Regions from separate parts of the Homo sapiens genome. Here region 2 is linked to region 1. The links are contacts of gene promoters, found by promoter capture Hi-C in blood cells and fetal thymus (Javierre and others, 2016). All regions are on one chromosome and are shown on one strand. Each heading gives the region's core, a stretch centred on a gene start or on the middle of the fragment in contact. The rest is flanking DNA. Distances are from core to core; before and after follow the strand shown.

Region 1 (4,335 bases), core at 1,487-3,986:
ACCCAAAGTGATGACTGACCCACATTGGGCAACTGGACTGAGACCTGGTCTGGATGCCTGGGTTCTGGGGAGAAAGGGGCTGGGAGCCTGGACTCCTGTATTTCCAAAGGAGGAGGGGGTTGGGTGCCCCATTCCTTCTAAGGGGGAGGAGGAGGATTAGGACCTGGACTCGCAGATCCTAAGGAGGGAAGGCTGGGGCCTGGACTCCTAGGTTCTGGGAAAAGAGGGGGCTGGAGTCCTGAACTCCTCTGTCTTTGATGGTAGGGTTCCAGATTTAGCAAATAAAACTATAGGAAGCCCAATTTAATTTGAATTTTAGATAAATAACAAATACTTTTTTAGTATAAATATGTCCCAAATACTGCATGAAACATGCTAAAAAACCTGTTTGTTGCTTATCTGAATTTCAGATTTTACAGGACAGCCTGTATTTTATGTGGCAACCCTGTTTGAGGAGGATGTAGGCCAATGCCTGGTGACTGGGCCACCATCACTCCTCAGCCCCCCAGGAGCTCCTCCTCCTGCTCACGGCCCTCCTCACCCCCAAGCAGGCCACCTCACAGCTTCCCCAGTCTCTATTTCCTCACCTGCATGAATTGCTAGATCTAATTGGGGCCCCCAGGCTGTGTCAGGAGTGAGAGAGGAAACTTGAGGACAACTCAGAGTGTCATGCTGGGAGCCCTGGGGTCCTCGGAGATGACTGACCTTGAGTCACCTGCACCCTTAGTCTGGACAGCAGGGGGGATGGGGCCCTGTAGCTGCCTCCACAGGGCAGGTCTGGAGATGAACAGAGATGGGAAGCGAGATTCAGAAGAGATTTTGACATAGGAGACAGAGACCCCGGGATAAGGGCACAGAGACACAGAGCCTGGAAGGAGAGGGACCCAGAGATGGAGAGACAGAGATTTGGAAAGAGATTTGCAGAGATGAGGAAAGAAAGACAGATTCACAGCTGGAAAGGTGAAGATGCAGGGTGAGAGACGAAGATTCAGAGATGAGGAGACAGGGATGTTAGGACACAAGTGAGGAGATGTCCCCCAGACATCCAGGCTCTAGGACCAATGACGGACGTGCACCGGCAAGACAGTGAGCGCTGCCGGGAGTTCTGGGGACAGGAAGACCCAACCATCTGGGTGGTGCTGGGAGACCAAGGCTTGGGTCCTAATGTGTTGGAGGGAGGGAGGGAGGGAGGGGACACCTGGGATCCCAGCTAGCAGGGTGATCCACCTGCCATCACCCCATACCCGGCGGGGTGATGACACCACCTTCTCTGCAGGTGACACCCCAGTTTTCTAGTGCCTCCTACATTTTTGGGGTGACACCCGTGCTGAGAACCCCACCCAGCTCTAATGCTGCTTCCCTCACTGAGTCACCTCCCAACCCCGTCAGGCCTGTTGGGGGGAAACTTTGGCGATTCAGGCACCCAGACCCCCAGCTCCTTCCCTGCTCAGGAGCCCAGCAGTGTGGAATCCCAGGACCCCTACCCTACTGAGGGATGTGCAGCCTGGCCTCATGAGACGCAGGAGTCCAGGGCCCCAGCCCCTCCTCCCTCAGACCCAGGGGTCCAAGCCCCCACTCCTTTGCTCCATTAGGACCCAGGAGTCCCAGGTGACGTCCACGTCCTTCAGGAACTGCGGCTTTTCAGTTCCCAGCCTCCTCCCTTCCCAATTTGGAGCTGGGGTGAGGTGTGTTTATTTACTTTGGTTCCAACATGAGTCATTCCCCAAAACACACTGCCCCCCATGTGTCTCCTGGCTTGAATGGGGAGGACACTGTCCCCCTCTCCCAGGAAAGTGGGGATATCACTGAGAGAGATGAGCGAGACCCTGAAAGGGGAGTCCCACACAGCACTCTCTCCCACTCCACCCGGCCTTTTTCTCTCCCCACCCATCACCTCTCCCCATTTCCCTGCCCTCTAAGCCTGTTCAGTGATCCCCCCACCTGCCTCTCCACTTTTCCATCTCCGTCTCTCTTCTGTCTCCCATCTCCCCTTTTCTTTCCTTTTTTTTTTTTAAGACAGGGTCTTGCTCTGTCACTGAGGCCGGAGTGTAGTGGCGGGAACACGGCTCACTGCAGCCTCAAACTTCTGGACTCAAGCGATCCTCCTGCCTCAGCCTCTCAAGTAGCTGGGACTACAGGCACATGCCACCATGCCCGGCTAATTCTATTTGTATTTTTTGTAGAGATGGGGTATCCCTATGTTGCCCAGGCTGGTCTTCAACTCCTGGGCTCAAGCGATCCTCTCACCTCAGGCGATTACAGGGTTGGGATTACAGGCGAGAGCCACCATGCCTGGCCCATCTCCCCTCTTCTTGTTATTTCTTTTCACATTTTTGTGCCCCTCTGTTTCTTGGCACCTCTCCATCTCTCTACATCTTCCTGCGTCTCTCCATCTCTCTGAATCTCCTCTCTCTCCTTTCTGTCTAGAGGGACTTCCCTGCCTGCCTTTCTGACACTGTGTTTCTGTCTCTCCCTCTCTTTTGGTCTCTGCGCATTGACCCGGCTGTGGCCCCCCGCCCCCGCCAAACCTCCCACCCCCCGCCACCTTCTTTTCCCTGGGTCCTGGGAGCTGAGGCAGGAGGAGAAGTGGGGGGATGGGAGTGGAGAGGGAGGGCGGGAAATCCCAGTGTGGGGAGAGGGTCGATCAGACCGGCTTGGCTCCCTGGGCACCTCTGTCAGAGCCCCGCCCAGGGCTGCGTGGCCGCCCATATAAGTGGCTCTGGGCTGAGACGGAGAAGTCAGTGCCCGTGTCTCCACACGTCTGCCTCCATCACTGCCATCGCGATCCTGCAGGTAGGAACATCCCCTCCGCAGCCCTCTTCTTTGAGGTTGGGCGCCTCTGCTCTGTTCTCCCTCCTCCTCATCCCACTCATATCACTCTGTCTCCTTTCATATCGCTGATTGTCGGTCTCTCGGGACATCTCTGTCCTTCCCAATGCCCCCAAATCTGTCCTTCTTAACTGGGGTGTGCTGAGCTGAATTTAGAAGTCTTGGGGCCCAGCATCACCTCTATGAACCCCCTTGGCCTGGGCCGTCAGACGTGGGGCGTTCCTCCTCATGTCTCTGAGCCTCAGTGCTCATCTGTGAGATGGGCTTGCAGAGGAGTCAAAGTGCTGGGCACATGTGGGCATTACTGGTGACATCTCTACGGGCACCTGGCTCTGATCTTTCTCCCCTTGTCTCTGACTCTGTCCATCTCCATTTCTTGTTCTCCCTCAAGCTCTATCTCGGGTATGGGGAGGGTCCTCTGCAATCTGTCGGGCAGTTGGAAAGACATGGGCGAGTTTCTCGCCCCCGCCCTATCCATTCCCTATTCCATGTCTCTCCTGGTTGACAGGCTGACTTGGCCTCTTTCTCCCCAGCTCCCCTCCCCCTGAGAGCCCAGCCCCCAGTGCCCCAGTCCCTTGCCCCCACCTCCCCAGTATCCAGCGTCCCTTGGACAGACTCTGCCACTGTTGCCACAGCCACTTCTGCCGTCCCCAACGCCACCTCCTCAGGGCCAGCAAGATGCAGTTTGAGATGCACGACAACGTGAAAGGCAAAGGTGGGACCGCTGGGTGGACCAGCAACCCTCTCAGTACTGGAACCTGGCCGCCTCCCTCCCCTGGGCACCCTTGCTTCGAAGACAGACGGCGCCTGCTTCCACCCCAGAGGCCCCAGAAATGCTGCAACCCAGAACCCAGGCCCAGACGTGGAGGAGGAGGCGGCACCGCCAGGCCCCACCCAGATGTGGTCCCCACCCTTCCTCAGATGTGCAGGAGACCCCCACCCCCAGCCTAACCAGACGTGCAGGAGCCAGCAGCAACAGGGACAGACTGGGGTTGCCGGTGCCCAGATGTAGCAGAAGGGAAGGGGGAGGCACAGTGGTGTCCCTTCAGTGGGCGGCCTGGCGGCCCCGCCCAGACTGCCCGGCACAGGGAAGGGTGGCCGAAGTGCGGGGCCCAGGAGATGCTGCGAGGCTGCCAGCTGACCCCTACCCTCCCACCTCTGCAGCTATGTCCTACCCTGTGACCAGTCAGCCCCAGTGCGCCACCACCAGCTGCTACCAGACCCAGCTCAGTGACTGGCACACAGGTCTCACGGACTGCTGCAACGACATGCCTGTCTGTGAGTGCCTGCCTGCTCCCTCTCCAGGCCTGGTGGAAGATGGGTTTGGGGGGAATCAGGAGAGGGAAGCTCACCTCCAACCTCCTCCCACCGCTTGCTAACCCCACTCCCACCTCCCTTCCCTGGACTTGGAATTCCCACTCTAACAGTCACCCTTTCCTCAGACCCCCAACACTCCTTAGGATACTACCTCATGCCTTCCCACACTCAACTTATCAGGCCCTCAAC
Region 2 (4,468 bases), core at 1,826-4,325, 210 kb after region 1:
CTCTCTGGGCCTTTTCAGGTGCAGGTGGGTTTTATTCAACATGGTACTTCGAATAGCAATGGATTTGTATTTTGAACCCTGATTTTCTTTGCACTCACTTCTTGATAGTCTTACTCTCCATTCTGTGTTCAAAACATAGTGAACTTTTTTCAGTTCTCACCTGCTTCCATGTGAAAGCTCTTCTTCCATGGGAACGCTTTCTCCATCCTGCCTCCTGTTTATCCTTCAGGTCTTATCTCAGGCATCACCTCTTCTCAGAAGCCTTCCGTCACTGCCCCATCCACCTCCTCTTGGCTCCCATAGAGCCCTATCTTGAGTCTTGAATATTCTGGCTGGTAATTATTTATTTATTTATTTGCAATCAGCTTTATTGTGATATAATTTGCATGCAATAAAATTCACCAGTTGTAAATGTACAGTTTAATGAGTTTACACACACACACAGTTGTGTAACCACCACCACAATCATGTTACAAAACATTTCCATTACCCTAAAAAGTTCCCTCCGGCGCCTTTGCTGTCAGTCCCCTCCTTCCACTGCAGCCCTTTTCAACCACTCATTTGCTTTTCCGTCACAGTAGTTTTGCTGTCTAGAATTTCATGTAAATGGAATCCTACAGTGTGTGGTCTTCTGCATCTCTCACTTTGGTTTTGAGGTACTTCTGTGTTGCTGTGTGTATCAGTAACTGTGTATTTATTGTTCATTCCCTCCCCCACCAACAACTTCAGATGAGGGTCTCTATGAGGGCAGAGTTGTGTCTCATTTGCATTTGTTTCTTCAGCTTACAGCATAGTGCTAATTCGTGATAGTATTCAGTATGCATGTCTTAAATGGAACCAAACTGAATGCTTGGGGAGAGTCAGCCTGGGAGAGCTTCTGAACCCGGGTGTGCATAAGGCAGGACCCATCTGCAAGATGCCTCATGGCCTTTTCATCCCACTCCAGCTGCTCCTCCATTTACTTTGGCTGGTTCTGCTCAGCAGGCCCTCACTTCTCTGCCCTTCTCTAACCTGCTTCCCTTTACCTGGTCTTCGATTCCCCGCTTGTGGTCTCAGGGCCCTGCTCCATTGCCTGCTCCAGCCTCCTCCTGGTCTTTGGAAGTCTCCACACCACTGAGCCCTGGCCTCCCTGAGCCTGCAAGTCTCTCCACTCCTCCTCCTGCCTGTCCCAGGACCCTACCCACTTCAGATGACTCCACATCTCAGTCCAGCTCTGCATACCTCTCTGTCTGTGCCTCCGGGTCCCTGTCTCTGGGCCCCTTCTAGGATGATGGAGACAGCTGGCTGCCCCATCCTAGGGAGCTAGGTTGTGATTCCTCTTCCTTTCTCTCTTTTGCTTCACCTTCATCCTCCGACTCGAACACCTTCCCATAGGAGGCCACTGGGGCAACCTCTAAATTTCATTCAGACCAGAAAAGCCTCTGTCTGTTTCTTATTTCTTTCCCTTCGGTCTTTATCTCCTTCTCCCATCTCCTTTCTCCTCTCCCCAGTCCCCTTCACTCTTCCTGATACCCTCACTCTGCTCTGCTCACCATTCACCTCCCTTCCTCCTCCTAGCTTCCTCTTTTCTCTCACACCCATTCTCCTCCTGTCCTTGTTCTCTTCCTTGCTCCCGCACCACATCTCCCTCTGCCTGTGTCCTCAGGGCCTCCTCCCTTCCTTCCATACATCCAGTTCCAGTTCCAGGTCTCTCTCTCTCTCTCTCTCTCTCTCTCTCTCTCTCTCTTTTGAGACAGAGTCTTGCTCTATCGCCCAGGGCAGTGCAGTGGAACAATCTTGGCTTACTGCAACCTCTGCCTCCTGAGTTCAAGTGATTCTTGTGCCTCAGCCTCCTGAATAACAGGTCTCTTCTTTTTGCTCCTTGTCCTTGCACCACTTTTTTCCTTCTCCCCAGTTTCTTCCCTTCCTGCTTTGTGTGCCTTCGTTTCCCTTATCTTACACCCTTTATCCTCAGAGATTATAAGGGAGCCCCAAGACTTGTAACCAAGACACCAAGATGTACACACACGCACACACATGGCCACAGATGCGCGAACAAATGTTTCATTAATGAACAAATGCATCTATCTAAAGGTATGTTCAAGGCCGGGAGTGTTGGCTCACGCCTGTAATCCCAGCACTTTGGGAGGCCGAGGTGGGTGGACCACCAGGTCAGGAGTTTGAGTCCAGCTTGACCAACATGGTGAAACCCCGTCTCTACTAAAAAATACAAAAATTAGCTGGGCATGGTGGCATGCGCCTGTAATCCCAGCTACTCGGGAGGCTGAGGCAGGAGAATAGCTTGAACCCGGGAGGCAGAGGTTGCAGAGAGCCGAGATTGTGCCACTGCAGTCCAGCCTGAGTGACAAAGCAAGGCTCTGTCTCTAAATAAATAAATAAATAAATAAATAAATAAATGTATGTTCAGACGCACACACTCAATTAAGGTCATCCATAGCTTGCAATGTTTTGTACTTAGTATACATCAGGTACTATTATTTGTATACATGTTTCTGAAAGATGAACAGGCAGAATGAGGAGGGAATAAGAGCTGAGCTCATTCGTACAGGAAGAGCCATGTACATGCACACCTGTACCCAGAGATGGCCCTCACTCAGACATGCACACACACACATTCCTCAGAGGAATCTGGTACTTCTGGAATTATGCTATTTCAGAAGCAGAGAGAGCACACATGTTTTTGCTGTGTTGTGTACAGTGTATGGTGTACGTCTTTGCATGTGCCTGGTGTGTATACATGTGCTGCATCAGCCTTCGTGGAATCATGACTCGGGGCTGGGCGGAGCCCTAGAAATCAGTTAGGACAACCTGCATGTGCGGATTGCTTAAGTCTCCTATTGGATCTGACTTTTGTAAGTCCATGAGGGATGTCAGCTTCTGCTTAATATGGATATTCTGGATAATTAAGATACCAATCATGCATAGGTTGTGGACCACAGACTCTTAACATACTGGCAAGTAAGCATATGATATGGACTTAGCACATATCAAACCAAGTTTTTTGGATCCTTAAAATTGGTGCTTTAGCCTGGGGAACATATGGAGACCTCATCTCTGCTTAAAAAAAAAAAAAATAGATGGGTGTGGTGGTGCATGCCTGTAGTCCCAGCTACTTGGGAGGCTGAGGCAAGAGGGGATTGCTTGAGCCCAGGAGTTTGAGGCTACAGTGAGCCATGATCACGCTGCGGCACTCCAGCCTGGGTGACAGAGGGAGACCCTGTCTCAAAACAAACAAACAAACAAACAGACAAACATTGGTGCTGTGTGCTTAGTGTATACTCACTGTATACACAATTATTATGTACTTGGTCATTCTTAGGAAGGATGACCGCCCCCCACCCCACCCATGTACTGGTCCTTGTAGGTGCCAGGGCCAAGGCAGGGAACAGGACATCCTTGGTCTCTGCCCTGTCCCTGCTTCCCTTCTAGTAGGTACTCAGGCTGTCCATAGCTCCTCCTAGGTCTATTGTACACGTACAGATGGAGGGACCTGGGAGTCTGCTGGGTAGATTCATTGCAGGGTCCAGTATTCCTTGTTGCTCCTTCCAGAATGGATAGTGTGTGGGTTGTCATTATATACACCCTTTTTTGAGTTCTCTCCTCACTATTGGGACCCCATGTGCCTTTGTATGCAAGCGGAGTGGGTGTTTCTTATGTTCAGTTTTGTTATGTGCCTTTGTGGATCACCAGAACCTGCTCATGGGTGTCTCTTATGTTCACACTAGCTAAGTCTATTAGGTTGGTGTGCCAGCTTTGTAGGCATGGGGGATAGGGTACTTCCTGCATTCATTTATGTTGTGCCCACACAGTATGGGTCCCAGGGAGGCTGGTTGGTAGGTGGCTATGGGGTGGTTCCGTGTCCACTATGTTCATGCCCTGTAGGCCCATGTGCCTAGTTTGTGTGCAGTTGGAGTGGGCGTTTCCTGTATTTATTTGTGTTGTGAACACACTGTGTGGATCCCAGGAGTCTGCTCTGTATGGGGGTATTAAGTGGTCCCATGTCCATTATGCATCTGCTGCATAAGACCCAAATACCTACTTTGTATGGACAGAGGGTAGTATTCCTTGCATTTATTTGTGTTGCGCACACAGTGCGGGTCCCAGGAGGCTGCTCCGTACAGGGAGTAGTAGGTAGTTCTGTGTCTATTATGCACACGCTGCACAGGTCCTGGGTACTTACTTTGTACGCCCACGGGGTAGGTGTTTCCTATATTTATTTATGTTACGCACTTCCAGTGTAGGTCTTGGGAGCGTTCTCCATACACGTGGGCAGTTGGTGATTCTCGTGTTTCTCACACACACATGAGGGTCCCGCGTGTCCACTCAGTATGCATGGGGTAGCCTTGCTGGTAACAAAGCGAAGGGCGGTTGCAGCTGCTAAGCCAAGACCGCGCAGCGCGTGCCTGCGTCCTCCTCCTCCTCCTCCCTTTCCCTCCCTGCCTTCCCCCTCCTGTTCCCTCCCTCTCAC

Evidence for each region. Contacts are between HindIII fragments. The CHiCAGO score rates a contact against its expected background, and 5 or more counts as called.
Region 2: a contact is called between a fragment that was not itself captured here and the fragment with the promoter of CNFN in region 1, in 2 of 17 cell types (neutrophils and erythroblasts). The highest score is 5.9, in neutrophils.

What each region holds. Positions count from the first base shown.
Region 1 is chr19:42,388,698-42,393,032 of GRCh38, reverse strand. It overlaps CNFN (cornifelin), which reads left to right and starts at 2,736. Exons shown (of 4, transcript NM_032488.4): 1 at 2,736-2,793; 2 at 3,994-4,107. The coding sequence starts at 3,996. The HindIII fragment of the contact is 9,287 bases long and covers 1-4,335 here.
Region 2 is chr19:42,179,501-42,183,968 of GRCh38, reverse strand. It overlaps a transcript of POU2F2 not described here. Among named protein-coding and RNA genes, the nearest start is that of POU2F2-AS2, 29 kb to the right of the region's middle. The HindIII fragment of the contact is 7,957 bases long and covers 1-4,468 here.